Regions from separate parts of the Homo sapiens genome. Here all the other regions are linked to region 3. The links are contacts of gene promoters, found by promoter capture Hi-C in human tissues and cell types (Jung and others, 2019). All regions are on one chromosome and are shown on one strand. Each heading gives the region's core, a stretch centred on a gene start or on the middle of the fragment in contact. The rest is flanking DNA. Distances are from core to core; before and after follow the strand shown.

Region 1 (3,979 bases), core at 871-3,370, 650 kb after region 3:
ACCAGAGAAGCAGATGATAAATGGACCACCTCAAAATCCAAAGACTGGAAGAAAATTAAAACAATAAAGAATAAACTTGGCTGGGTGTGGTGGTTCACACTTAATAATCCCAGTACTTTGGGAGACCGAGGCAGGAGAAATGCTTGAGCCCAGAAGTTCAAGACCAGCCTGAGCAACACAGTGAGACTGTCTCTACCAAAAAAAAAAAAAATTAGCCAGATGTGGTGGCACATGCCTGTAGTACCAGCTACTCAGGAGGCTGAGGCAGGAGAATCACTTGAACCCAGGAGGCAGAGGTTGCAGTGAGCCAAGATCACGCCATTGCACTCCAGCCTGGGCAACAAGAGCGAAACTCAGTCTCAAAAAAAAAAAAAAAAAAAAAAAAAAAACAGGAAAGGAAACGAAAAAGCTTGTGGTACTAGCTGTTTCTTCTGGATAAAAAACTGGCCTTGATGACTACATTAAAGAAAGAATATCAGATAAGACCATGCATTCTCAGTGAGTGCAGTAACAGCCCAGAAGGGGTGAAAATTGATTCTTGGGGGAAAAAAAGTTAGATATTACAATGGTTTGTGGCCATCCAAAGGGCCACAATACAAAAACAGATACACAGTACATCTGTGGTATTAAAATTCCATTGGGGGTAGCTGGGCACGATGGCTCATGCCTGTAATCCCAGCACTTTGGGAGACTGAGGTGGGCAGATCACTTAAGGCCAGGAGTTCAAGACCAGCCTGGCCAACATGGCAAAACACAAAAACTACTACTAAATAACACAAAAATTAGTTGGGCATGGTGGTGGGCGCCTATAATCCCAGTTACTCAGGAGGCTGAAGCACAAGAATCACTTGAACCCAGGAGGCAGAGGCCACAGTGAGCAGAGATCACACCACTGCACTCCAGCCTGGGCGACAGAGTGAGACTCCCTCTCAAAAAAACATTCCACTGGGGAGTAGACAATTAAGGGAAAAAAAGTCTCAAAATATGATAATGAACAAAAGGTTGAAAAATAATTAGATGAACCCAAAGGGTTGAGTCTTAGATGAACCCTAAGGGCACAGTGTTCATTAACTTGTATAATGGTCATGGGTAGGGTAACTAACTTGTCCTGGTTTGCCCCGGACTTTCCTGCTTTTGGCACTAAAAGTCCCACATACGGATATCCCTCTGTCCTGGGAAAACTGGCATGGTGGTCCACTCTTCTCAAGAGAGAGATCAATGAAGGCATTCCCATTTCACAAATGAGGTGACACCAAGAAACACAGTGGTTGTCACGGATTCACAGCACTTTAGCAGCATTCCTGAGGCAAGGCTGGCTCTTTCCATTTGTCTAGTCCTATGCTCACAACTCTCTGCCCCTGATTTCCACTTTGGCAGAGAATGTTACTCATGAATTGATTATGCCACTTCCTTCTCAATACCAAAGCCAAGGGCAGTATTAGGAGGATGAAGGCAAACATGGCCAGCCAGCATAATCACAGCCATGTCTTACAGCTGCCTGGTGGAACCTGAAGGAACTACAAGTCTGGGCTGAATATAGTTTTGTTGCTACTGGATTCTGGGTACAAATTTGCAAAAGTAAGAATGCCAGGTGTAAACTCCTCACAAGCTAGGAAAATTCCTAGCTTGAGGTTCTCCACATGTGTCTGAGCAGCCCGAATCTTTTACAAGGTTTTTGTCCCAAAGATGAACTCAGTTATTGCTTATGCTAGGAATCAGGGGTTACCCAAGGCCTCACTCTGAATGGCAACAGGCTATTCTCCTACTCCCCTACTCAGCAGTGAAATCCTTGGTGAAAGTAAAGGAAGAAAAGAAAAGGGCATGCTATTCCGTCTTTAGTCTACGTATAATTAAAATACAAGACTCTCTGCTGTAGAAGACTAAGGTTTGCAGTTTAAGGCCGACTCAGAAAAGGATAAAGTATTCATCCTTGCTCAGAAAGAGAGAAGATTAGCTCCACAGGATGGGTCTCCAAATTGACACCAAATCCAGGAGTTAGAGATGGCTGTGCTACAGAGCGTGATCCAAGCACCATCTGGAGCCCCCAGAAAAAAATCCCTAGGAATAGCGACTAAGGGACTAGCATTGTAAGAGAGTTCAGATTAGCTCTCCTGAAAAGAGGCTTACTACAAGAGACTGGCAGACAGCCTCTGCAGCAAAACTTCACTTAGGAAAGGACAGAAAATGAATGAAGAAAGACAGGGGGAGGCTGAGCAGGTCAGAGTATGAATCCACAAGTATGTGAAAAAGAGAATCCACCTATTTCGAAAAAGGTACAACTTCCTTTCAGAGCCTTTTTTTTTTTTTTTGAGACAGAATCTCTCGCTCTATCACCCAGGCTGGAGTGCAATGGCACAATGATCTCGGCTCATTGCAACCTCCGCCTCCCGAGTTCAAGTGATTCTCCTGCCTCAGCCTCCCGAGTAGCTGGGATTACAGGCATGCGCCACCACGCCCGGCTAATTTTGCATTTTTAGTAGAGACGGGGTTTCTCCATGTTGGTCAGGCTGGTCTTGAACTCCCGACCTCAGGTGATCCACCCACCTCAGCCTCCCAAAGTGCTGGGATTACAGGTGTGAGCCACCGCACCCGGCCAGAGACTCTCATGTTCTTTTGAATATTCTCATTAACGGCAAATCTTCATTCTTTGAGGGTGAAAACATTTATTGCATTCCTATGTCCCAAGAGCTTTCATGTGTAATACGTCATTTAACCACCCTTCAAAGTAAATATTATTCCCAGTTTTTTTTGTTTTGTTTTGTTTTGTTTTGAGACGGAGTCTCGCTCTGTCGCCCAGGCTGGAGTGAATGGCGTGATCTCCGCTCACTGCAAGCTCCGCTTCCCAGGTTCACGCCATTCTCCTGCCTCAGCCTCCTGAGTAGCTGGGACTACAGGCACCCACCACCTCGCCCGGGTAATTTTTTGTATTTTTAGTAGAGACGGGGTTTCACCGTGTTAGCCAGGATGGTCTCGATCTCCTGACCTCGTGATCCGCCCACCTTGGCCTCCCAAAGTGCTGGGATTACAGGCGTGAGCCACCATGCCCGGCCCTATTCCCACTGTTATGTAGTGGTACATTGAGCCCCAGAGGTGAAGTAACTTATCCAAGGTTATGTGGCTAATAAGTGGTAGACTCAGAATTAAAACTCATGTTCACCACCCTCCAAAAATCTGTTATTTCCACTTCAAAAGAACTGTTAACTCATCTGAAGACAAGGCAGGTGACAAGGTTGCTTACCCATGCCATTCGGGGTTAAATATATATAGGCTGTGTGCAGTGGCTCACGCCTGTAATCTCAACATTTTAGGAGGCCAAGACAGAAGAATCGCTTGAGGCCAGGAATTCAAAAACAGCCTGGGCAACACAGCGAGACCCTGTCTCTACAAAAATTAAAATTACAAAATTAGCTGGGCCTGGTGGTGCGCCCCTGTAGTCCCAACTACTCAGGAGGCTTTAGTGAGAGTATTACTTAAGCCCAGGAGTTCAAGGTTGCAGTGAGCTATGATTATGCCACTGCACTCCGGCCTGAACCACAGTGTGAGACCCCATCTGAAAAATAATAATAATAATAATACAGTATGGTTTAATATATTAAAGAAACTGATCTCTCGCATGGTTCAAAAAGGTCTCTGAAAACAATTCCAGAGGTGGATTTTCAAAACTGCCTTGGACAACAGCCAAATCACTTAGGCACGCCATCCTCAACTCCCACCACCTACACCTGCACACATCACTCTAAAGGAGAACATTCATTGGTGGATCAAGTTCCCACATGTCAGTTATTTTAAAATCCATTTTGTTACCTTTCAGTTTCACTTAATTAGCCTCTTCTCCTGCCAATGAAACACACCAGGGCTCACAGTTGGCCTCAGTAGAGAAGTAATAGCTGGCCTTCAGAAAACAGCAGGGAAGGGGAAGTAAGTGGGAATCAAAGTACTAGGCAACTTTTCATTCCTGGACTGCCGCATCCCTACTAAC
Region 2 (3,789 bases), core at 1,001-3,500, 830 kb after region 3:
AAAAATTAGTTGGGTGTGGTGGCACGCGCCTGTAGTCCCAGCTACTCAGGAGGCTGAGGCAGGAGAATCGCTTGAACCCAGGTGGCAGAGGTTGCAGTAAGCCTAGATTGTGCCACTGCACTCCAGCCTGGGCGACAGAGCAAGACTCCGTCACAAAAAAAGAAAAGAAAAAGTTGATGTAATTTAATATGATATATAGCTTACATCTGGTTCTTCCTTTTTGGGGTTTAGTATAGTCTTACAGACTGAGTTCTTTTGTCTTTTTTTTTTTGGAAGATGTTTTTGCATGAGGATCTAGATTGAATTAGTACCTGAAACTGTGTTAATGAACTTGCTTTTTTATGTACTTATTTTCCAGGTCAAGAGCAATCTGAATCCAAATGCAAAGGAGTTTGTTCCTGGGGTGAAGTACGGAAATATTTGAGTAGACGGGGCCCTCTTTTGGTGGATGTAGCACAATTTCCACACTGTGAAGGCAGTATTAGAAGACTTAATTGTAAAAGCTCTCTTGTCACTGTGTTACACTTATGCATTGCCAAAGTTTTTGTTAGTCTTGCATGCTTAATAAAAGTGCTGAGACTGTTACTAAGTAAAAAGCTGTCAAACATTTACTGAAAATAGAATTGGCCCCATGGCTTGATGTGAAGACAGCAAGGAAAGAAGCACCAGTCAAGTTGTGAACAAGCACCAAATTAAAAGACCTAAACCTTACCAAATTGTCTTTTTTTGAGGCTAATCTATCACTTGTTAATGTCTAAACTTTAAAATCAGTACATTTAATTTGAGTTCCAACTGTTAAGCATATTTCTCAGACTTAAATTTGATTATGTCCCCATCAAAAAGAATCTCCATTTTCTGAAGGTCTGTTAGTTAATTTGAGATAATTTGTTAAAGGCAAGTATGTCATATTACTGAGGCTACAAGTTAGTCAGCAGATGAGTGCCAGTCCAGCCTTTTCTGGTATGTTATTGTTAGAAATATTGAGTTCTAATGTTACATCTGAGGAAGTATGTAATTTGAGAATTGTAACTTCTAAGGGATTCACTGCATCATAGCTATGCCTGTATGGAGTCTAACATATGACCAATACCAACCCATAATCCAGCTGAACAAAGATACTGTAACATGATTTGAGTGGTGCTTTTCCTTGCTTTGTTAACCATCACGAGAGTCTGCAGCACAACTTTTAACAAAGCTAGAACAGTTTTGGCTTCTTAAACTTCATATTTGGGTAGGTTAAGCTGCCATACGTGTTCAGTGTGAATAGTGTTTAAGTTGAAAATATTGTAAAAAAATTATATTTTTTCAAAAATATTTAAAAAAATAAATAATAGTAGAACTGAGCAGATGGTTGTGTTTATTGGTGCTGGAATGTACTGTAGTGGTGTTACTCACTTGAGTATGGGCCCAGTGCCTCAGGACAATCTTGCTGGCAAAATGTGCTAAGCTTTCAGGCTTTGTTAGATTCTAACAGGTATGTTGCCATGCAAGTACCTTTCCAGAATATAGCAGTAGAATAACTCCATTGCCCATCCTTGCTTCTTAATCACCTCAGACTTCAGTGTCAGGGGAATCCTAGATAGTCATGTAAGAAACTTTATGGCTGACCAATATGATGGTGACCTTACTCTAATAGAACCTCCATTGTTTTTTGTTCTTCACAAGGGCTTTTTTTGAGCTTATTAGGTTGAAAAAGATTAAGAGAGCCATATAGTCAGTTCTGACTCACATTCTTCTGGCAGTGGGTATGGGGGAGGTTCTTTGGTGTGGGCACCTGTACCCCAGTGTGTGGTTGGTTGGTTGGTTGGTTTTTGGAGACGGAGTCCTGCTCTGTTGCCCAGGCTGAAGTACAGTGGCACGATCTCAGCTCACTGCAACCTTCACCTCCCAGGTTCAAGTGATTCTCCTGCCTCAGCCTCCCAAATAGCTAGGATTACAGTTGTGTGCCACCACACCTGGCTAATTTTTGTATTTTTAGTAGAGACCGAGTTTCACCATGTTAGCCGGGCTGGTCTTGAACTCCTGACTTCAGGTTATCCACCTGCCTCGGCCTCCCAAAGTGCTGAGATTACAGGCGTGAGCCACCGCACCCAGCCTTTATTTATTTATTTATTTATTTATTTATTTATTTATTTTCAAGACAGAGTCTCACTCTGTCACCAAGGCTGGAGTGCAGTCATGCAATCTCAGTTCAATGCAACCTCTGCCTCCTGGGCTCAAGTGATTCTCCTGTCTCAGCCTCAAGTAGCTGGGATTACAGGCGCCTACCACCACGCCTGGCTAATTTTTGTATTTTTTTAGTAGAGATGCGGTTTTGCCATGTTGGCCAGGCTGGACTCGAACTCCTGACCTCAGGTGATCGCCCTTAAGAGTAAAGATTCTTGAATGTGGCTTTTGTTGGGAAAAAAATTTAAAAAAAGAAAAGGGGGCTCTAGGCTGGGTGCGGTGGCTCACGCCTGTAATCCCAGTACTTTGGGAGGTCAAGGTAGGTGGATCATTTGAGGTTAGGAGTTTGAGACCAGCCTGGCCAACATGGTGAAACTCCATCTCTACAAAAATAAGCTGGGCATGGTGGTAGACGCCTGTAATCCCAGCTACTCAGAAGGCTGAGACAGGAGAATTGCTTGAACCCGGGAGGTGGAGGTTGCAGTGAGCCGAGATGGCGCCACTGCACTCCAGCCTGGGCGACAGAGCAAGACTCTGTCTCAAAAAAAAAGGAAAAGGGAACTCTAGCCAGACTTCCTGGATGTGAATCCTGTGATCATGGGCATATCACTTAACCTTTCTGTACCTTCCTTTCCACATCTCTAAAATAGCAGTAATAACTGTCTCTGGATTATGTGAGTAGTTAATATATATAAGTACTTAAGACATAGAAAGTCCTGTTTTAAGTGTTGTTATTTTTACTATTAAGGAGTCATCTAGGCTAACCTCTCTTTTTGGGAACTTTTCTTGTCTGTCTGAGGGAACGTGCACATTGAACCCACTTCAGTGTTTAGTAGAGAGCCAGGCATCTGCATTACAGATAGTGATGGAAGGTTTCCGAGCATCAGCTGCCCATGCGTTCTGAAGACCTAAGGACAAAGTGTCACCTCATCAGGGCTTGTACAGGCATCGTTTTAGGATAAAGGCATCCTGTTTTAAAGGGTTTTAATTTTATGACGTTATTGAGACAAGGCAGTGTATATGAGAGGATTTTTCCTGTTCTTGTGCTGCATTTCTCAACATTTTCCATGTCGCATATCAAAGTGATACTTGTTTAGCATACTGGAGTACAAGAATGAGGCTGCCAGTGGCTAGAGTTCTTAGCTCAAGGACTCCAATTGGCCCAGATTCTGCCCAGGTGTCTGGAAGGCTAGAGGATCTGCATTTCAGCATACTTGTAGCCTCTTAGTGGCCCACACTAGTTGGGAAGTTCTGCTGTTACTATGAAATGGTAAAGGAATTCCACCCAAAATCCGTATGTTGACTTTTTACCCAGCTCACCTTCTCTTTGAGGACATTCAAACAGTTTACAAGAAAGAGAACTGAGTAGTTTGGTTTTTCTTTGGTTAAAGCATAAGAATGTTTTGATTATTCAACCCTCCCACAAAAACCATAGACACATCCTACCTTTCCTGGAAGTCATTTTTCAGACCTTGGTGCACACAGATGCAGTTTCTGTATTTTCTGGAGTGTCTTCTGGAATTGCAATCTGATCTTTTGAACTTGAAGAAAATCCTTTGAAGACTGGGCAGATAGGAATGTATTTCAGAAAGGTAATTCTTTTTACTATGCCCATCCCAATGG
Region 3 (4,225 bases), core at 340-2,839:
CAGAATGTCAAATTCTTGTGCTGAAATCAACTTTTCACATGGCCTGAGGCAGGCCATTCTACTATTCTAAGAATGCTCAGACATACAAGTATGTAATAATGTTCCAAACACTTTTTTTTGGGGGGGGGGGCACTTCCTGTAAGTAAAAAGTTTCTATGACTGGGAAAGGAACAAAATAAAGTAATAAAAGAAACAGGAATACCCCTGGCACACCTTCCTCAAACGAACAACGTTAAAAAAAAAAGAAAACACACACACACAGCTAATTTTAATCTAGCCTACTCTCCCCCCAATGGACACACCTACAGTTTCTTATCAAAATGTACAAGACTCAAAGCCCATTTAATTCAATTATGAATCTCACTCAACAAGCATCAAGCACATCAGGCGCCTCTCTACAGCGATATCCCCACAAGTTTCAGAGAAATGCCAGCAGGGACTCTGTAGTTATGATTCCTATCAAACGGCCCCCTAACCCGTATTTCTCCTGGACATACACATGCAGATTCATTAACCAAAACCTACCCAGCACCCCTCACATCGCGCGTACGTTGGCATTTTCAGTTTATAGGTGGGTCCTGGAACAGCTAAAACCAGGAAGCTCCGGGGTAATTAGAGGACTTGGGAGAAGTCATCTTGGGACAGGTGGAAGACCCAGAGAAATCAGGAATCAGAAAGAAGCTGTCCCTGGCCACCTCTGCTTCCCGTCCCATCCAAACTTCACCCACCCGGGTCTCAGAAGCCCAGAAGGGAGAGGCCATTTTAATGAGGCCTGGCTGAGAAATGAAGGGAGAAGAGGAAATCAGGGAAGGGCCCTGGGAAAGGAAGGCCGAACACTTTGCCACAATAGCACCCGAGTCGGGTGGCAGCACCTGGAGCCCGAAGAGGGAGGACCTGGACTTAAGGGCCCGGGAGAGGTGCAAAAGTAGCGGTGGCCTACCACGAGGGGGGCCGAGTGATCTAAACCGGGGAGCGCGGGCCCCTTACCCCCATGCGGGGAAAGGACCCCTTCTCGGGCCAACCGCGCCGACCCTCGCCCCTGGGTCAGGGGCTACTACCCAGAGATCCAGAAGGCGGGAGTTGGCTAGTGCCTGGTTCTCCTCATCCGGCCATGCGGCGCGGGGGCGTCCATCCTGAGGGGTCCGGGAACCAAGAGGGCACGGAGGGTGCCGGACGCGGCGCTCACCCGCGGGCCGCCTCCAAGCTCTTAATGAGCTTCTTGATCTTCCAGATCTCCACGTTCCTGTCGGCAGCACTGGGGTCGTCCGCCATCTTCTCGCCTCCTCCTCCCTAGAGCGGCCCGGCGGGGCCCGGAGACACCAAGACCACAGAGTTAGCGCCGCCGCTGGGGCAGAGCGGCCCCCTTCCTCGCCATCCCCCAGAGGCCCTCTCCTCCCGTCCGGTGCAGCTCGCCACAAAGGTCACCGGCCTTTCCCTCCCTGTGCCTTACCTAAGGGCCCAGTCCTGGGCGGCAGCGGCTGCTCCTCCCCGGCGGCGGCTCCGCGGCGGCGGCGGCTCTGACGTAGGACACCGGCTCCCTCTCTCCAGGCAGCTGCATGTGTTGCAATCCGCTCACATGGGGCCTGTGACATCACTTCCTCCGCCAGGGGCGGAGTGGAAGGCGGCAGGCGGAAGGGAGGGGGCCGGTGCGAGTGAGGAGAAGCTGGGCGTCCGCCGCGACTTCTCATTGGCTCTCTGCCCCGCAGCCTACAATGAGCCCGCCGATTGGCTGCAGCTGGGTCCGCGCCGCCTTGTGAGGTAAGGCTGGGGGGTGGGAGGTGCCACCTTTCTTCCGGCCCGGCAAGGCGAGAGGAGGAAGCGGGCGGAAGCCGGTGGCTCTCGCGAGTTTACTGAGAGCCCCCGTCAGGCTCGAATGGGGGTGGTTCTTAAAGAGAGAGGACCGGGGTCGTCGTCTTTTCAGTCCATTCTCCTTGAATAGGGTGGACATCTGAGGCTTTGCGACTCGAAGCTAGGCACTTGGGCCCGACGCGCGGTTTGAACGGTGCTTGAGAAGCCGCGAAGAAGCGCCTCGCGCTCAGCGGCTTCTTCGCTGACGAAGTGCTGCGGTCTGCGTGCGTCATGGCTGCACGGAATAGTGTGGAGGAGTCCTGGCCAGTAGGTCTGGATGAGGAACCTGCCTCCGGGCGGTCCGGGACCCTCACCTGCAGGGGCGAAAGAGGCCTGTTTTCTCTCGCCCCAGAGCTAGGACGGGCTCACTTTGGACTTAGAACTTTATGGGGTGGAAGACAGCGGGGGCTGCCTGAGCTTGGAGACCTGAGGTATCTGGTCCCATGTATGATTTGGCCTGAGCCGTTGAGAATGGGGGTGGAGAGAGTTGAAACAAAATGGGCATCCACATACGGTTAGAACTTTATCTTTTTGAGTTAGGATTTTTAGGTGGCTACTTTGTCCCCCCTCACCTCGTCTGGGTTCAAATATTGAGCCCAGACCGTGTGCTGGACCCTGTTTTCCTGGGGATACAGAGGTGAACCAAACAGATGACAGTACTTACCCTTATGGAGCTTATAGTCGATTGGGTTTTTAAGTTTGTGATTTTATACTTTTTGTAATAAAATAATTACACAAATGCTTAAGTACTTCAGGGTGCTCTGAGAGTGTATGGCGGGGACCCAGCTCTGAAATGAGACCCAAAGGATGATTAAGAGTTTGTCAGGAGGAAACAGAATACAGTTGAGAACTACAGAAACGCCAGTGTGCTGGCACAAGGTCAGGGACGGGGAGAGTGGTTTGAGGGAGCAGCAGGGGAAGAGGTCATGTAGGGTCTTTTAAGCCAGATTCAGAAGTTTGGTTTCTTTCAAGAACAGTGGGTAGTTTAAAGGGTTTAGAGCCCTGGTGTGGACTGGAGAGAGTACAGGAGAAGCCCAGAGACCATTTTGGCTGCTTCATTATCATGTGAGAGATGATTTTCGCTTACATTAGGGTGGTGACAGTGCAGATAGAAGTGAATGAAGGGCCTGGTGCAGTGGCCCACGGCTGTAATCCCAGCACTTTGGGAGGCCAAAGGGGAGGATCGCTTGAGCCCAGGAGTTTGCGAGCAGCCTGGGCAACATGGCAAGATTCCGTCTCTACAAAATTACAAAATATTAGCCTGGTGTGGTGGCCCGCGCCTGTAGTCCCAGCTGCTTGGGAGGCTGAGGTGGGAGAAACCCTTGAGCCGAGGAATTCGAGGCTGCAGTGAGCTGAGATCACACCACTACACTCCAGCCTGGGTGACAGAGCGAGACCTTGTCTCGAGGAAAAAAAAAAAGTGAATAGGACTGGATGATGGATTGGTTGAGGAAAACCAAGAATGGTTCCCAGAGTACTGAAGTGGTGACATTTACTGAGGTGGGAAAGGTGAGGAGTAGGTGTTGGGGGATGATTGAGAATTTCATCTTGGGCCTGTTAAGTTTGAGATTGCTTATGAGACATGTAAGTAGGGATGTCCGTCATGCGCTTTCATTTGTATGGTTTTTGAATACTTTTTGCATGTGTTATAAACTGTGTCCACACTTTGAAGATGGGGGTATGACCTCCATTTCATACATGGGGAAACTGAGGCAAAGAAAAGTGAAAGGGATCTGCTCAGAGTCCACAGCTAGTTTATGGCTTCCCGACTCCATTTTTGGAGTCCAGTGTATTATACAGTGACCCCATTACCTGTATTTTCATAGGGTGGGGACACGGTCATACTTCTGTCCCCCAGGAAATGAATCTCAGGTTGGAACCTCTTCTTTGGGTTCCATTTTGTAGTTTTTGGCATATGTTTATTTGTTATATAATATTGTACTCCTGCTGTGTGTGTGTCATTCACTGTGTTTAGTAGTGAACGGAGGGGTCTTCTTAGTCATAAACACTGCTTACTGACTAGGAATCAACTGTGTCCAAGGTTTTCCTTCATTCCTCTTGCCCTGGTTCCTCCTTTCTATATTAGATTGCCCTACTCTACCCTTCCTGTTCTTTTTTTTTTTTTTTTTAAAGACGGAGTCTCCCTTTGTCGCCCAGGTTGGAGTGCAGTGGCACGATCTTGGCTCACTGCAACCTCCACATCCCGGGTTCAAGCGATTCTTCTGCGGCAGCCTCCTGAGTAGCTGGGACTACAGGCGGGTGCCACCATGCCCAGCTAATTTTTTGTATTTTTATTAGAGTCGGGGTTTCACCGTGTTAGCCAGGATGGTCTCGATCTCCTGACCTCGTGATCTGCCTGCCTCGGCCTCCCAAAGTG
Region 4 (3,832 bases), core at 237-2,736, 630 kb after region 3:
CTGGGCATGGTGGCAGGTGCCTGTAATCCCAGTTACTTGGGAGGCTGAGGCAGGAGAACTGCTTGAACCCGGGAGGTGGAGGTTGCAGTGAGGCAAGATCACGCCACTGCACTCCGGCCGGGGAATAGCGTGAGACTCCGTCTCAAAAAAAAAAAAAAAAGACAGACAAAGACAAAATCTTGAAGGGGAGAAAAGCAACTCATTACACACAAGGATCCTCAATAAGATAAGGAGATCTCTCATCAGAAACTTTGGAGGGACCCACTCCCAAGATGGCAGCCGCAATGGCTGCCAGCTGTTGCGGCCACAGTGAAGACAGGCAGCAAAACACCAGCTGGTCCCAGATTCACTGCTAAGTGCTGAGGGGAGTTTTTCTCTATCCTCTGTGACATTTCCAATTTTAGATAATGCCTCACATCTCTGCCCCCACTCCAGAACCCGCTGATGCCCCCATGATCCCAAAGAAGACAGCCTACCCTAGAATTCACCCCCAGGATGTTGCAACACCACATTTTGTTTTTACATAATTTAAGAGACTAATGCATTAAAAAAATAGATATAGGTTATGTTTTTAGACACACAACGTGTAAGATGCAATATCATGACATCAACAACTGAAAGGGGTGAGAAATGGAGCTGTTGAAGAAGCCGAGTTTTCTATGCTATTGAAGTTAAGCTATTATAAATTCAAATTACAGTGTTATAACTTCAGGATGTTAAATGTAATGCCCATGGCAACCACACAGAAAATAGCTAAAGAATATACACCAAAAAAAATGAGGGCCGGGTGTAGTGGCTCAAGCCTGTAATACCAGCACTTTGGAGACCAAGGCAGGCAGATCACTTGAGGTCAGGAGTTTGAGACCAGCCTGGCCAACATGGTGAAACCCCATCTCTACTAAAAATACAAAAATTAGTTGGGGGTGATGACAGGAGCCTATAATCCCAGCTACTCAGGAGGCTGAGGCAAGAGAATTGCTTGAACCCAGGAGGCAGAGATTTCAGTGAGCCAAGATCATGCTACTGCACTCCAGCCTGGGAAACAGAGTGAGACGCTGTCTTAAAAATAAACAAAAATAAATAAATAAATACCTAAAACTTACACGGGACACAGCAAAAGCAATACTAAAGGAGAAATTTATAACTATAATGTGTACATTAAAAAACAGGAAAGATCAGCCAGGCACGGTGGCTCATGCCTGTAATCCCAGCACCTTGGGAGGCCAAGGCAGGCAGATCACGAGGTCAGGAGATCGAGACCATCCTGGCTAACATGGTGAAACCCCGTCTCTACTAAAAATACAAAAAAAAAAAAAAAAAAATTAGCCGGGCGTGGTGGCAGGTGCCTGTAGTCCCAGCTACTCAGGAGGCTGAGGCAGGAGAATGACGTGAACCCAGGAGGCGGAGCTTGCAGTGAGCTGAGATTGCACCACTGTACTCCAGCCTGGGTGACAGAGTGAGACTCTGTCTCAAAAAATAAAAGAAAAAAAAAAAAACAGGAAAGATCACAGACAACAACCTAACTTTACAATTTAAGGAACTGAAAAAAGAAATGCAAACTAAACCCAAAGCTAGCAGAAGAAAGAAAATAATAATAAAGATCAGAGCTAAGATCAATGAGATAGAGAATAGAAAAATAATAGAAAAAAATCAACAAACCTAAAAGGTGGTTATGCAAAAAAGATCACCAAAATTGACAAACCTTTACCTAGATGGACTTTTTTAAAACAGGCCAGGCACAGTGGTTCACACCTATAATCCTAGCACTTTGGGAGGCCAAGATAGGATTGCTTAAGCACAAGAGTTCAAGACCCGTCTGGGCAATATGTCAAGATCCCATCTCTACAAAAAATTTTAAAATTAGCCAGGCATGGTGGCAGGTGCCTGTGGTCCCAACTACTTGGGAGGCTGAGGCAGAAGGATCACTTGAGCCCAGGAGGTCATGACTACGCCACCAAACTCCAGCCTGGGCAACAGGGTGAGACCCTGTCTCAAAAAGGAAAAAGAGAGAGAGGACTCAAATTACTAAAATCAGAAATCAAAGTTGGGCCAGGTATGGTGGCACATGCCTGTGGTACCAGGTACTCAGGAGGATCCTTTGAGCCCAGGAGTTTGAGACCAGCCTGGGCAGTACAGCAAGACCCCATTTCAAAAAAAAACAAAAAAGACTGCAGGGTGAAGTGGCTCAGCCTGTAATCCCAGCACTTTGGGAGGCCAAGGCAGGCAGATCACCTGAGGTCAGGAGTTCAAGACCAGCCTGGCCAACATGCCAAAACCCTGTCTCTACTAAAAATACAAAAATTAGCCGGGCATCATGTTATGTGCCTGTAATCCCAGCTACTCAGGAGGCTGAGCCAGGAGAATCACTTGAACATGGGAAGCAGAGGTTGCAGTGAAGCGACATCATGTCACTGCACTCCAGCCTGGATGACAGAGTAAGACTGTGTCTCAAAAAAAAAAAAAAAAAAAAAAAGAATAAAAGAAAAAAATAATGAAAGTGGAGATATTACCACTGATTCTACAGAAATGAAAAGGATTATAAGAGTGTACTAGGCCAGGCGCAGTGGCTCACACCTGTAATCCCAGAACTTTGGGAGGCCAAGGCAGGTGGATCACCTGAGGTCAGGAGTTGGAGACCAGCCTGGCCAAGATGGCAAAACCCCGTCTCTACTAAAAAATACAAAAATTAGCTGGCATGGTGGCACGCGCCTGTAGTCCCAGTTACTCAGAAGGCTGAGGCAGGAGAATTGCTTGAAGCCGGGAGGCGGAGGTTGCAGTGAGCAAGATCGCACCACTGCACTCCAGCCTGGGCAACAAGAGCGAAGCTCCATCTCAAAACAAACAAACAAAAAAAAAGAGTGTACTATGAGCAGGTGTACACCAACAAGCTTGATAACCTAGATATGGACAAATTCATAGAACCAAAATCTACCAAGACTGAATCACAAACAAATAGAAATTCTGAACAGACAGACCTGTAACTAGCAAGCCAACTGAACCAGTAATCAAAAATCTCCCAACAAAGCAAAGCCCTAGACCTGATGGCTTCACCAAACATTTAAAGAACTAACATCAATCCTTCTCAAACTTTTCCAAAACATTGAAGAGGAAGGAATATTCCCTACTTTATTCTCTGAGGCCAGCGTTACTCTGATACCAAAGCCAGACAAACACTACAAGAAAACTACAGACTGGCCAGGCGCGGTGGCTCACGCCTGTAATCCCAGCACTTCGGGAGGCCGAGGCAGGCAGATCACCTGAGGTCAGGACTTCAAGACCAGCCTGGGCAACATGGTGAAAACCCGTCTCTACTAAAAATACAAAAATCAACTGAGCGTGGTGGCGCATGCCTGTGATCCCAGCTACTCAGGAGGCTGAGGCATGAGAATCATTTGAACCCGGGAGGTGGAGGTTGCAGTGAGCCACGATCTTGCCATTGCATGATCTGGGCAACAGAGTGAGACTCAGTCTCAAAAAGAAAAAAAAAAGAAAACTACAGACCTGTTTCTCTTATGACCTTTTTTGTGAGACAGTGTCTCACTCTGTGGCCCAGGCTAGAGTGCAGTGCCACAATCACAGCTCACTGCAGTCTCAAAACCCTGGTCTCAAGCAATCCTCCCACATCGGCCTCCCAAAGTGCTGGGATTACAAGCATGAGCCACTGCACCCTGACTCTTTGCCACTTCATAAGAAGGTGGCCTTTCCTTCAGTTTCCAATAACATGTTCCTAATTTCCATCTGAGGCACCATTAGAAGGGCCTTTACCATCCAGATTTCTATCTACATTCTGATCAAGACCACTTAGATAATCTCTAAGAAAACGGAGGCTTTC
Region 5 (3,766 bases), core at 848-3,347, 680 kb after region 3:
GAGAAGCGTCTCTGCCCGGCCGCCATCCCATCTAGGAAGTGAGGAGCGTCTCTGTCCGGCCGCCCATCATCTGAGATGTGGGGAGTGCCTCTGCCCTGCCGCCCTGTCTGGGATGTGAGGAGCGCCTCTGCCCGGCCGTGACCCCATCTGGGAGGTGAGGAGCGTCTCTGCCCAGCTGCCCCGTCTGAGAAGTGAGGAGACCCTCCGCCTGGCAACCGCCCCGTCTAAGAAGTGAGGAGCCCCTCCGCCCGGCAGCCACCCCGTCCGGGAGGGAGGTGGGGGGGTCAGCCCCCCGCCCGGCCAGCCGCCCCGTCCGGGAGGTGAGGGGCGCCTCTGCCCCGCCGCCCCTACTGGGAAGTGAGGAGCCCCTCTGCCCGGCCACCACCCCGTCTGGGAGGTGTACCCAACAGCTCATTGAGAACGGGCCATGATGACAATGGCGCTTTTGTGGAGTGGAAAGGGGGGAAAGGTGGGGAAAAGATTGAGAAATCGGATGGTTGCCGTGTCTGTGTAGAAAGAAGTAGACATTGGAGACTTTTCATTTTGTTCTGTACTGAGAAAAATTCTTCTGCCTTGGGATCCTGTTGATCTGTGACCTTACCCCCAACCCTGTGCTCTCTGAAACATGTGCTGTGTCCACTCAGGGTTAAATGGATTAAGGGCGGTGCAAGATGTGCTTTGTTAAACAGATGCTTGAAGGCAGCATGCTCGTTAAGAGTCATCACCGGCCGGGCGCGGTGGCTCACGCCTGTAATCCCAGCACTTTGGGAGGCTGAGGCAGGCGGATCACAAGGTCAGGAGATCGAGACCATCCCGGCTAAAACGGTGAAAACCCGTCTCTACTAAAAATACAAAAAATTAGCCGGGCGTAGTGGCCGGCGCCTGTAGTCCCAGCTACTTGGGAGGCTGAGGCAGGAGAATGGCGTGAACCCGGGAGGCGGAGGTTGCAGTGAGCCGAGATCCCGCCACTGCACTCCAGCCTGGGTGACAGAGCGAGACTCCGTCTCAAAAAAAAAAAAAAAGAGTCATCACCACTCCCTGATCAGGGACACAAACACTGTGGAGGGCCCCAGGGTCCTCTGCCTAGGAAAACCAGAGACCTTTGTTCACTTGTTTATCTGCTGACCTTCCCTCCACTATTGTCCTATGACCCTGCCAAATCCCCCTCTGCGAGAAACACCCAAGAATGATCAATAAAAAAAAAAATAAATAAATAAATAAAAATACATTTGGCACTGGGTGTGGGGGCTCACGCCTGTAATCCCAGCACTTTGGGAGGCAGAGGTGGGCAGATCACCTGAGGTCAGGAGTTCAAGACCAGCCTGGCCAACATGGTGAAACCCTGTCTCTACTAAAAATACAAAAACTAGCTGATCATGGTGATGTGCGCCTGTAATCCCAGCTACCTGGGAGGCTGAGACACGAGAATCGCTTGAACCCGGGAGGCAGAGGTTGCAGTGAGCCAATATTTGAGACTCTTTCTCAAAAAAAAAACACAAAGGAAGTAAAGTACACTTGAGAGATCACATGCATGGGTTTTATATGTTGCCATACTTGTAGGGTCTTGAGTTATTTCTCCTCTGATTCTTCCCTTGGGGCCTTGGGGTGGGCTGTCCGCGTGAGCAGTGGACTGCTAGCACTTGGGAAGGGAGCATATGCAGTGTGCTTACTGGAGTCATAGCATGCTCACTTGAGGCGTTCTTCCCTTACCAGTCTAGCATCTCTAGAGCAAGGTCATATACCAGTTAAACTCCACCATTTTGCCTCTTAAACTGCATTCTTGGGCCCCCTCGCTCAACTCCTGAGATCTTACCAGAAAGCCGCTGATAGCAGTTTCAAGTGTTTTCTATATATTAGGAGACTGCCTTTCCCTGGCACTGGCTGTCACCAACTATTTGTTTAGAGAGACAGTTAACAACTGCCTAACCATCACCTGATGGTCACCTGGCATTCCTGTTGTATGAGAGCAGCCCTCTCCTGCCCTGCTTATGCCTGACTAAGCTACCTATTGTAACAAATTGACCACTTTCTCTAATCAAAATAGAATTCAAGGCCAGGCACAGTGGCTCATGCCTGTAATCCCAGCTCTTTGGGAAGCTGGGGTGGGGGAATCATGAGCCCAGGAGTTTGAGACCAGCCAGGGCAACATAGTGAGACCTCATCTCTACAAAAAATAAAAAATCCTTCATCAGCTTAGGGAGATAAGATAAATAAATAAAAATAAAAATTAATTAATTAAAAATAAAAAAATTTAGCTGGGTATGGTGGCACATGCCTGTGATCCCAGCTACTCAGGAGGCTGAGGTGGGAGGATTGCTTGAGCCCAGGAGGTCAAGACTGCAGTGAGCTGTGATCACGCCACTGCACTCTATTCTGGGTGACAGAATGACACACCATTTCAAAAAAAGCAAAAAGAAACACAACAAAATAGAACTCAATGACAGAAAGATAACAACAGCCCCATGCATTTGGAAACATTTCTAGAATTATGGGATAAAAAATAAATCAAAATGCAGATATTTCTAAATAAAAAATAGCCATAGAAGACAAACTTGTATTTAAAGGGAAATGTATGGCTTTAAATGCTCATATGAGAAAAGCAAGCTGGGTGCGGTGGCTCACTGCTGTAATCCCAGCACTTTGGGAGGCTGAGGCAGGCGGATCACCTGAGGTCAGGAGTTCGAAACCAGCTTGGCTAGCCTGAGGAAACCCTGTCTCTACTAAAAATACAAAAATTAGCCGGGTGTGGTAGCATGCACCTGTAATCCCAGCTACTTGGGAGGCTGAGGCAGGAGAATTGCTAGAAGCAGAAGTTGCAGTGAGCTGAGATTGCGCCATTGTACTCCAACTGGGTGACAGAGTGAAACTCCATCTCATAAATAAATAAATAAATAAATAAATAAATAAATAAATATACAGAAATTAGCTGGGCATGGTGGCGGGCACCTGTAATCCCAGCTACTCAGGAGGCTAAGGCAGGAGAATAGCTTGAACCCGGGAGGCAAAGGTTGCAGTGAGCCAAGATTGCACCATTGCACTCTAGCCTGAGCGACAAGAGCAGAAAAAAACATAGAAATACTATAGAGAATCAACAAAATTTTTTTGACAAGCTCAGTCAAGAAAAAGGCATAGATAAACAATATCAAAACATTTAAAAGGGCTGGGCGCGGTGGCTCATGCCTGTAATCCCAGCATTTTGGAAGGCTGAATGAAGCAGGCAGACTACCTGAGGTTGGGAGTTCCAGACCAGCCTGACCAACATGGCGAAACCTCGTCTCTACTAAAAATACAAAAATTAGCCAGGCATGGTGACTGGCCCCTGTAATTCCAGCTACTTGGGAGGCTGAGACATGAGAATAGCTTGAACCCGGGAGGCGGAGGTTGCAGCGAGCTGAGATCACGCCACTGCACTCCAGCCTGGACAACAGAGCAAGGCTCCATCTCCAAAAAAAAAAAAAAAAAAAAAAAAACATTTAAAAGAAGATATAGCTGTATAGCAGAAAATTTAAAGTCATAAGAGAACACTGTAAAAAAATATTTTAAAGCAATAAGTTTGAAAATTTTGGTGAAACGGGTAATTTTCCTTAAAATGGAAAAAAAATCCTGTAATGGAGATGTTATTATTTCTTTTCCACAGATAAGAAAACTGAGAAGCAGAGAAATAACTTGGTCAGATTCCCATAGCTAGTAAGAGACAGAGTCTAGATTTGAAGGCCCAAGCAGTGGACTTCTGATTCATCTTCCCTCTTTCCCTCCCACAAACATT
Region 6 (3,940 bases), core at 329-2,828, 870 kb after region 3:
TGTGGCCAGCTGTAACAGAAAGCCACTGGAACGGCACAGTGCCTCCTCACAAAGCCCATCCTGGGTATCATGAGGAAAAAGAATGACACATAGCTTGGCCAGGCTGCTGGAACCCATGTTCCAGTGGCATCTGGAGTTCACTGTATTTTCTTTTTTCTTTCTTTTTTTTTTTTTGAGACAGAGTCTTGCTCTGTCACCCAGGCTGGAGTGCAATGATGTGATCTCAGCTTACTGCAACCTCTGCCTCCCAGGCTCAAGAGATTCTTCTGCCTCAGCCTCCTGAGGAGCTGGGATTACAGACACGTGCTACCATGCCCGCCTAATTTTTGTATTTTTAGTACAGACAGGGTTTCACCATGTTGGCCAGGCTGGTCTGGAACTCCTGACCTCAAATGATCTGCCTGCCTCAGCCTTTCAAAGTGCTGGGATTACAGGCATGAGCTACTGGGCCTGGCCAGTTCACTGTATTTTCGAACAATTTCCAACAGAAAGCACAGCAGTGACGTTTCCTTACTGGTCACTGCTCCCGTGCTGTGAGGCCTGGAGCTGATCAAGGAAGCTTACACATTTCCCGGCCTGAGCAGATGAACTCTAGGGTTGCTAATCTGGGGACGTGGGTTCCTTCAAGCTCTTTGTGATGAGAAGGATTTTCATCCTCCTTTTCTCACTGCCGATCGTGCGGTAGAGAGAGCATCTTCATTTGAATGAGAGCTTCAGTTTCTGCTTGAGCCTCAAGCCCTATTTCTGAGCGCTGCTCCTCTCACACACGTCTCCAATCTGCAGTAATGCTCAAAGAAACAGTCTAGAGCTGGGTGCCAAGCTCCGGCAGCAAGAATAAGCCCTACCTAGTTATGTATGATCAGGAGATCTTCCAAAGGACGTAGGCGAGAGGAAAAAGCTTATTTTACCACCATGCAGACAACCCATCTAAAATATAACCCAGGAAATTATAGCTTCACAATATTCTGGATAGTATCAAATAGATAAATCCTTCAACCAAAAGCAAATACGGTTCCCTTGAGGAAAAACAGATGTGAATGTTGTGGTCTATTGGCAATAAATAAAACAGTACCATCGGTGCTATAAAAACAGACAATCAGCGTGACATTTAATGGAGTTAGTTATTATTGCTTCTATTTAGTATCATCACAGATTACTTATCGCTGCCATGAAGTCCATAAAATGTGTGACTACCTGATTCCTGGGCATCTAGGACAGGGTCTTTTAACCTGTCAAGTCAGTTTCATTATGGCCAATTTTCTAGCAGTGGTTGGGGATGGGGAGAGGAGAGCTTTGATTTTTTTGTGTGTAGAAGAACTTTCCATAAGCCTGTTTGGCTCATGGACATATTTTACAATGTAACCTCCCTCAGTCACTCAGAGGGGATCAAGAAGGGCCCCCTAAAACCAGGAGGACAGATCTAGTTGGGCAGCAAAATCTGGCTATTTCTAGAAATGCTCCCTCTCCCTGCAACTGAGCAGTTGTCCCCTACAAGCCACTAAAGCCCCCAATCTTTACCTGTGAACCCATCTCCTGACTCTGTGGAATGCCTGCAGAGGCATGGTAGGGAACAACCGTTCAGATGTTGATGAGCCATGCTAGGCACGTCTGTGTAAATCATGGCCATGCATTGGGATGAAGAAACTTTACTTTGGAATCTGTTTAATGTAGACTCTTTTTTTTTTTGAGATGGAGTGGAGTGCAGTGGCGTGATTTCAGCTCACTGTAACCTCCACCTTGCAAGTTGCAGCGATTCTCATGCCTCAGCCTCCCGAGTAGCTGGGACTACAGGCATGTGCCACCACACCTGGCTAATTTTTGTATTATTAGTAGAGATGGGGTTTCACTGTGTTGGCCAGGCTGGTCTTGAACTCCTGACCTCAGGTGATCCACCTGCCACAGCCTCCCAAAGTGCTGGGATTACAGGCTTGAGCCAGTGCACCCGGCCGACTCTCTACCAGAAACTTTTCTTCCAATATGAAGGAAGCATGGAGTGTAGGCTACAGTCACTTAATGATCCTTCCAAGTTCAGAGTCATGATAATTCAGGCAGCTCAGCTCCACAGGAAGGCCCAGAACCACACAGCCCAGGCAGTGACTGAATTCTTCCTAGTCACCAGTGGAGGGCTGCCTGCCTGTGAGGGACCTCTTATTTTGTGTACAGAATTTATGTTAGACAGGGTCCTGCTTCCTAAAGAGCAGCAGGGATGTTGTCCTGAACAGATGCAAGATTGCCACAGAAAAGATGAGGGGTCATGGGGTTGGGGAGGACGGAGGCATCCTCGGGAAAGGTTCTGCTTTGCCAGTCTGGCTAGAATCACCTGAGACATGAGGATGCTCTCCCACTTTCTACTTGACACTCAGCCTACCGTCTTGCTCTGCCACTACAAGACCTGGGTCATCCTCTCTGGGCCAATGTTCTCATTCATAGAACCAGGGATAATACATCTACTTCAGAGTTGTGAGGAGGTTTAAGTAAGAAAATATGTGTGAGAGCCCCTGCTTTTATAGTAGGCACTCAATAAATGTTGAATGAATGAAAAATCATCTCAAATCACAAACTATAGGATACTGGGTTAAACAAAGTGGCTGCTGGGGCCAAAGCTAGACCCCCATATCCAAGGAGAGAGGATCTGTCTCCTCTATCTCTAGGCTTGAGCAAACAGCCTGGAGAGCTGGCAATGCCTCCTCCTGGGTCTGACCATCTGCCTCTGTGGGATGTAGGAACTCAGCCTAAGTGCGATGACACCAATGATGATACTGAGGGGAAATGACCGAAGGGACATTCTCTGGGTTCTATGATGGAGTAGGGAGGCTTCGTGGAGGAGATGAGGCTCGGTCTTGCATTATACCTTCGCCCTGGCCCCCGCCTCCAGATGCTGCTCAGTAGTTTTAATTTCTGGACTCTCTAAAGGAGAGAGGGTTAAGGAAATAAAGGAATCTCAAATTAGGCAGTTTGCTAATGCTACTAACTGAGCAGAGATTGGAATAATAGAAAACTATTGACTACAATAGTTTAAATTTCTCCATATTCCCCTAGAAAATGGAAAGCTGGGCAGGAACATGTTCCAAAGGCTAAATCTTGGCGGAGATGATGACTCTAATGAAGGGAGAGGTATAATTCTTGGTAGACAGTGTAAATAACTAATATTAAGCTTTGGCTAAGCCTAGGAATGCCTGGTTCTTAAGACTTCACTGAAGAAGGGAAGAAGGAAGAAAGCATGGATCTGCTCTGGGATGCCCTGAACTCCATTCACATAGGCAGGGTAGGCATGGAGCAGGGAGACGGAATCCAATGCCTTGCCATTAATTTAACTTAGATGAACTACTCCTGGTCCCTGGAGCCACTCCCCAGGAAGGATCCTGTGAAGACACATCTGGCTCTCGTGCCCATGCTCCTGCCACTCTGCCCAACCAACGAAGTTAGCAAATAGTAAAGTGTTCATCATTACCTAGTTTTGTATTATAAAATGGAATCAGGAACATAAATAGGAACAAGTAGCAAAACCCCAGCCCTGCGTAGGACCATTATCCTCTCAGCCACCTCTGCGTAGGCCAATGAGTTTGGAAAGTTTCTCACAGTTTTCAAGTTTCAGCGACTCTGCTTTCTGTTTCAATCGTTCATCTCTGTATAATCCTGCCAAATTTGTCAGCTCTGACTCTGAAAGATAAAAGAGGTAACCAATTCATCAAGAGCTGAACTCCTTTGTTTCATTTCAATGTTTCTGGAGTCAAAGCTCCTTTTACTTCATTTCAAGCTTTTTCTTACAATTAAATATAAGAAACATTTAGTCATTTATTCACAAAACACGTCTTAGGTACTAGACCAGGTGTGGAGGATTAAAGGGCACCTGTGACCCTGCAGTCCAACAGTATCTGTGCTCTCTTATAAAAGCACTGGACTTAGTTCTTACCAAGAAAACATTTGGCACCAGACTTAG
Region 7 (4,222 bases), core at 1,081-3,580, 780 kb after region 3:
GGGAACATTGCTGTAATTTGAAAACAATCACGTTTTTCTATGGCTTTGATAACAGTTAAAACTTTAAATTTTGTATGCCCATAGTCCAGTGAGGTCACCTTAATTCAGCATCTTGGAAGCTTTGCTGTCCAGTTACGCGTACAATATTTAATTTAAAAATCACTACAGAGAGTATGTTTTGACACTTTGAAGTAGTTTAACCGTTTGGTTATGGTCAGAAAGAACTTACCCAGTGACGTTTGATATGTAGCTTTAAAATTCTCTAGAATGTTATGAGTTGTTTTACTTACACTCTCCTGGTTAATTATAGATTATAAAAAGTCCTAATGCGTAATTGGTTTCATATTGCTTTAAAGAGACTTAATTGCTTGGTTTTTTTCCCCTAATGGATAGGAAACTAGCAGAGTTGTTCACATCATGGATTTTCAACGAGGGAAAAACTTGAGATACCAGCTATTACAGCTGGTAGAACCATTTGGAGTCATTTCAAATCATCTGATTCTAAATAAAATTAATGAGGTATGAATTGAAATATTGGTATTATTCATTTATTCATGCCACTAATATATGTTCTGCAAGAATTAAATGATTTTGTATTAGAAAAATAAAACTCAAGGTAATCTTAAGTTTATCAAATGCAGAATGTAGTAGAGGAAAAGGCCAGTAGTTGATGAATATAATAGGGTACTAATGGATTATTAGTAACTATAAATTATGATCCTTAGGTAGTAATTGTCATTATACTACTATAAAAGTTGTAAAAGGAAAATTCTGTGGAAAGCCATTTCAGATCTATACCAAAATGATGGTTTCAAGTCATTATTTTTAGTCCAATTGGCATAGTAAATGATAAAGTAATGCAGTAGAAAATTAATCTGAGGTGGCCTTTGTAATAAAATAGCAAATTGGCAACACTGTTTTTTGGGGTTTTTTTGTTTCTTTGTTTTGGGAGTCGGAGTCTCGCTCTGTCACCCAGGCTGGAGTGCAGTGGCGCGATCTCAGCTCACTGCAACCTTCGCCTCCTGTGTTCAAGCGATTCTCCTACCTCAGCCTCCCAAGTAGCTGGGATTACAGCCGCCCACTATCATGCTCAGCTGATTTTTGTATTTTTAGTAGAGATGGGGTTTCACCATGTTGGCCAGGCTGGTCTCGAAGTCCTGACCTCAGGTGATCCACCCGCCTTGGCCTCCCAAAGTGCTGGGATTACAGGCGTCGGCCATTACACCCGGCCAACATTTTTGTTCGTTTGTTTTTGTTTTGTTTTGTGTTTGAGTGTCACTCTGTCACCTGGGCTGGAGTGCAGTGAGGTTCACTGCAGCCTCCACCTCCCAGGTTCAAGCCATTCTCCTGCCTCAGCCTCCTCCCAAGTAGCTGGGACTACAGACGTCCACCATTACGCCCAGCTAATTTTTGTATTTTTAGTAGAGACGGGGTTTCACCATGTTGGTCGGCCAGGATGGTCTTGATCTTTCAACCTCGTGATCCGCCTGCCTCGGCCTCCCGAAGTGTTGGGATTACAGGCATGAGATACTGGGCCCAGCCTCTTTTGTTTTGTATTTTGATTCTTGAAAGTATTTTCTACTTAATGATTAAATATATCTGAAAAGATTTGGGGCATTGTTATTTTTTAGGAAAAAAAATCTTTAGTTCAATGTGAGAAAGCTGATTGGAAAAAACAGAGAAATAACTTTTTGTATAATTTCAGGCATTTATTGAAATGGCAACCACAGAGGATGCTCAGGCCGCAGTGGATTATTACACAACCACACCAGCGTTAGTATTTGGCAAGCCAGTGAGAGTTCATTTATCCCAGAAGTATAAAAGAATAAAGGTAATGTTTATTTTTTTCAAGCTGTATATCAGTTTAACAAATGATTTTAATAGTTATTAACTGTGGTTATTTCAAATTATTGCTAAGGCCAGGTGTGGTGGCTCACGCCTGTAATCCCAGCACCTTGGGAGGCCAAGGTCAGAAGGATTATGTGAGGCCCAGGAGTTCCAGGCAAGCCTGGGCAACATAGCAAGACCTCGTCTCTATAAAAATAAAACAATTGGTAAAGACTAGGATGTTTTTAACTGTTAACTAATAATTATTGCACATTTGTCCTTTTGTTGTTGTTATTTATTAAAGAAACCTGAAGGAAAGCCAGATCAGAAGTTTGATCAAAAGCAAGAGCTTGGACGTGTGATACATCTCAGCAATTTGCCGCATTCTGGCTATTCTGATAGTGCTGTTCTCAAGCTTGCTGAGCCTTATGGGAAAATAAAGAATTACATATTGATGAGGATGAAAAGTCAGGTAATATACATAAGGAAGTTTTAGAGAAGATAATTTATTAAAATCCTTAAGATTTTTCAATATGGAGCTGGGCGTCATTCCTCAACCTGTAATCCCAGCAGTTTGGGAGGCCAAGGCAGGCAAATCACCTGAGGTCAGGAGTTCGAGACCAGCCTGGCCAGCATGGTGAAATCGTATCTCTATTAAAAATACAAAAATTATCCAGGCGTGATGTGCCTGTAATCCCAGCTACTTGGGAGGCTGAGGCAGGAGAATTGCTTAACTGGCAGGGGGCGGAGGTTGCAGTGAGCTGAGATTGCACCACTGCACTCCAGCCTGGGCAGCAGAGCGAGACTCCCAACTCAAAAAAAAAAATTTGCTTTTTTTTTTTTTTTTTTTTTTTTTTTTAAAGTATATCCCTATTTTTAGTGATGAAATCTGGAGGACTAGTTGTTTGCTTTTCTTTTCTTTTTTTTTTTTTTGAGACAGGGTCTCAAAAATTAATATTTCATACTTTTTTTTCTTGTATTTAAAAAATATAGAGTTAGCCAGTCGCAGTGGCTCACGCCTGTAATCCCAGCACTTTGGGAGGCGGAGGCAGGCAGATCACGAGGTCAGGAGATTGAGATCATCCTGGCTAACACAGTGAAACCCCCTCTCTCCTAAAAATACAAAAAAATTAGCTGGGCGTGGTGGCGTGCGCCTGTTGTCCCAGCTGTTGGGGAGGCTGAGGCAGGAGAATGGCATGAACCCGGGAGGCGGAGCTTGCAATGACTCGAGATTGTGCCACTGCACCCATCCTGGGTGACAGAGCAAGACTCCATCTCAAAAAAAAAAATTTAGAGTTAGGCTGGATGCATTGGCTCATGCCTGTAAATCCCTAGACATTGGGAGGCTGAGGCCAGAGTTGCCCAGGAGTTTGAGACCGCCCTGACAACATATTGAGGCCACATCTGTACAAAAAAAAATTTTTTTTAACCAGGCAAAGTGGCATGCTCGTACAGTTTTAGCTACGGGAGTCTGAAGTCAGGTGGAACACTTAACCCAGGAGTCCAAGGTTTGTAGTGGGCTATGATTGTGCCACTGTACTTCAGCATAGGCAGTGGAGTGAGACCCTGTCTCAAAAAGGAAATAAGGATGAGGAGAACATCTTTTTTGTTTTTCTTTTTTTGTTTTAAACACTTCTGTAATTCAGCATTGCAAGTTTGTGTTCTTCCAGACTTTTATTTTTCTTACACTATTTTAATATCTTAAGCTTATTACTTTTTTTTTTTTTTTTTTTTTTGAGACAGAGTCTCGCTCTGTCACCCCGGCTGTAGTGCAGTGGTGCAATCTCAGCTTACTGCAAGTTCTGCCTCCCCGGTTCATGGCATTCTCCTGCCTCAGCTTCCCCAGTAGCTGGGACCACAGGCACCCGCCACCACGCCTGGCTAATTTTTTTTTTTTTTTTTTTGTATTTTTACTAGAGACGGGTTTCACCATCCACAGGATGGTCTCGATCCCCTGACCTTGTGATCCGCCCGTCTCGGCCTCCCAAAGTGCTGGGATTACAGGCTGAGCCACCGCGCCCAGCCAGCTTATTACTTTTTTGCAGAGTGTATATAGATGGCTTAGTATTTGGCACTAAAGTGATTCTTGGGGATTTTGTAAATCTGACAGGTTGGTTTTTTGGTTTTTGGTTTTTTCTGAGATGGAGTCTTGCTCTGTCGCCCAGTCTAGAGTGCAGTGGTGCCATCTTGGCTTGCTATAAACTCCGCCTCCTGGGTTCAAGCAGTTCTCCTATGTCAGCCTTCCAAGTAGCTGGTACTACAGTAGGCACACTCCACCAGGCCCAGCTGATTTTTGCATTTGTAGTAGAGATGGGGTTTCACCATACTGGTCAGGCTGTTCTCGGAATTCCTGACCTCAGGTGAGCCACCCGCCTTGGCCTCCCAAAGTGTTGGG

The links. The method cuts DNA at HindIII sites, captures the fragments that hold promoters and counts their contacts. A contact is called where the count stands out against the background at its distance.
Region 1: a contact is called between a fragment that was not itself captured here and the fragment with the promoter of ETF1 in region 3, in 3 of the 25 tissues and cell types used here (IMR-90 fibroblasts, bladder and stomach).
Region 2: a fragment that was not itself captured here is called in contact with the fragment with the promoter of ETF1 in region 3 in 2 of the 25 tissues and cell types used here (IMR-90 fibroblasts and dorsolateral prefrontal cortex).
Region 4: a fragment that was not itself captured here is called in contact with the fragment with the promoter of ETF1 in region 3 in 1 of the 25 tissues and cell types used here (mesenchymal stem cells).
Region 5: a fragment that was not itself captured here is called in contact with the fragment with the promoter of ETF1 in region 3 in 1 of the 25 tissues and cell types used here (mesenchymal stem cells).
Region 6: a fragment that was not itself captured here is called in contact with the fragment with the promoter of ETF1 in region 3 in 1 of the 25 tissues and cell types used here (hippocampus).
Region 7: a contact is called between a fragment that was not itself captured here and the fragment with the promoter of ETF1 in region 3, in 4 of the 25 tissues and cell types used here (IMR-90 fibroblasts, mesenchymal stem cells, mesendoderm cells and 1 more).

The regions. Positions count from the first base shown.
Region 1 is chr5:139,192,637-139,196,615 of GRCh38, forward strand. All of the region lies in intron 1 of SIL1 (SIL1 nucleotide exchange factor), which reads right to left. Among named protein-coding and RNA genes, the nearest start is that of SIL1, 3.7 kb to the right of the region's middle. The HindIII fragment of the contact is 8,977 bases long and covers 1-3,979 here.
Region 2 is chr5:139,368,375-139,372,163 of GRCh38, forward strand. It overlaps PAIP2 (poly(A) binding protein interacting protein 2), which reads left to right. Exons shown (of 4, transcript NM_016480.5): 4 at 359-1,343. The coding sequence ends at 424. SLC23A1 (solute carrier family 23 member 1) reads right to left here. Exons shown (of 15, transcript NM_005847.5): 14 at 3,613-3,789. The coding sequence ends at 3,632. Among named protein-coding and RNA genes, the nearest start is that of SLC23A1, 13 kb to the right of the region's middle. The HindIII fragment of the contact is 8,101 bases long and covers 1-3,789 here.
Region 3 is chr5:138,541,647-138,545,871 of GRCh38, forward strand. ETF1 (eukaryotic translation termination factor 1) reads right to left here and starts at 1,590. Exons shown (of 11, transcript NM_004730.4): 1 at 1,451-1,590; 2 at 1,187-1,290. The coding sequence starts at 1,272. RefSeq lists enhancers at 1,101-2,300, 1,242-2,031, 1,751-2,150, 2,032-2,821 and a silencer at 1,411-1,460. The HindIII fragment of the contact is 28,551 bases long and covers 1-4,225 here.
Region 4 is chr5:139,172,488-139,176,319 of GRCh38, forward strand. All of the region lies in intron 1 of SIL1 (SIL1 nucleotide exchange factor), which reads right to left. Among named protein-coding and RNA genes, the nearest start is that of SIL1, 24 kb to the right of the region's middle. The HindIII fragment of the contact is 4,426 bases long and covers 1-3,699 here.
Region 5 is chr5:139,224,389-139,228,154 of GRCh38, forward strand. No RefSeq gene overlaps it. Among named protein-coding and RNA genes, the nearest start is that of SIL1, 28 kb to the left of the region's middle. RefSeq lists an enhancer at 1-87. The HindIII fragment of the contact is 6,415 bases long and covers 1-3,766 here.
Region 6 is chr5:139,410,613-139,414,552 of GRCh38, forward strand. It overlaps DNAJC18 (DnaJ heat shock protein family (Hsp40) member C18), which reads right to left. Exons shown (of 8, transcript NM_152686.4): 8 at 1-3,660. The coding sequence ends at 3,536. Among named protein-coding and RNA genes, the nearest start is that of SPATA24, 8.5 kb to the left of the region's middle. The HindIII fragment of the contact is 3,753 bases long and covers 1-3,455 here.
Region 7 is chr5:139,317,203-139,321,424 of GRCh38, forward strand. It overlaps MATR3 (matrin 3), which reads left to right. Exons shown (of 15, transcript NM_018834.6): 7 at 394-519; 8 at 1,706-1,831; 9 at 2,132-2,299. Among named protein-coding and RNA genes, the nearest start is that of PAIP2, 23 kb to the right of the region's middle. The HindIII fragment of the contact is 4,627 bases long and covers 18-4,222 here.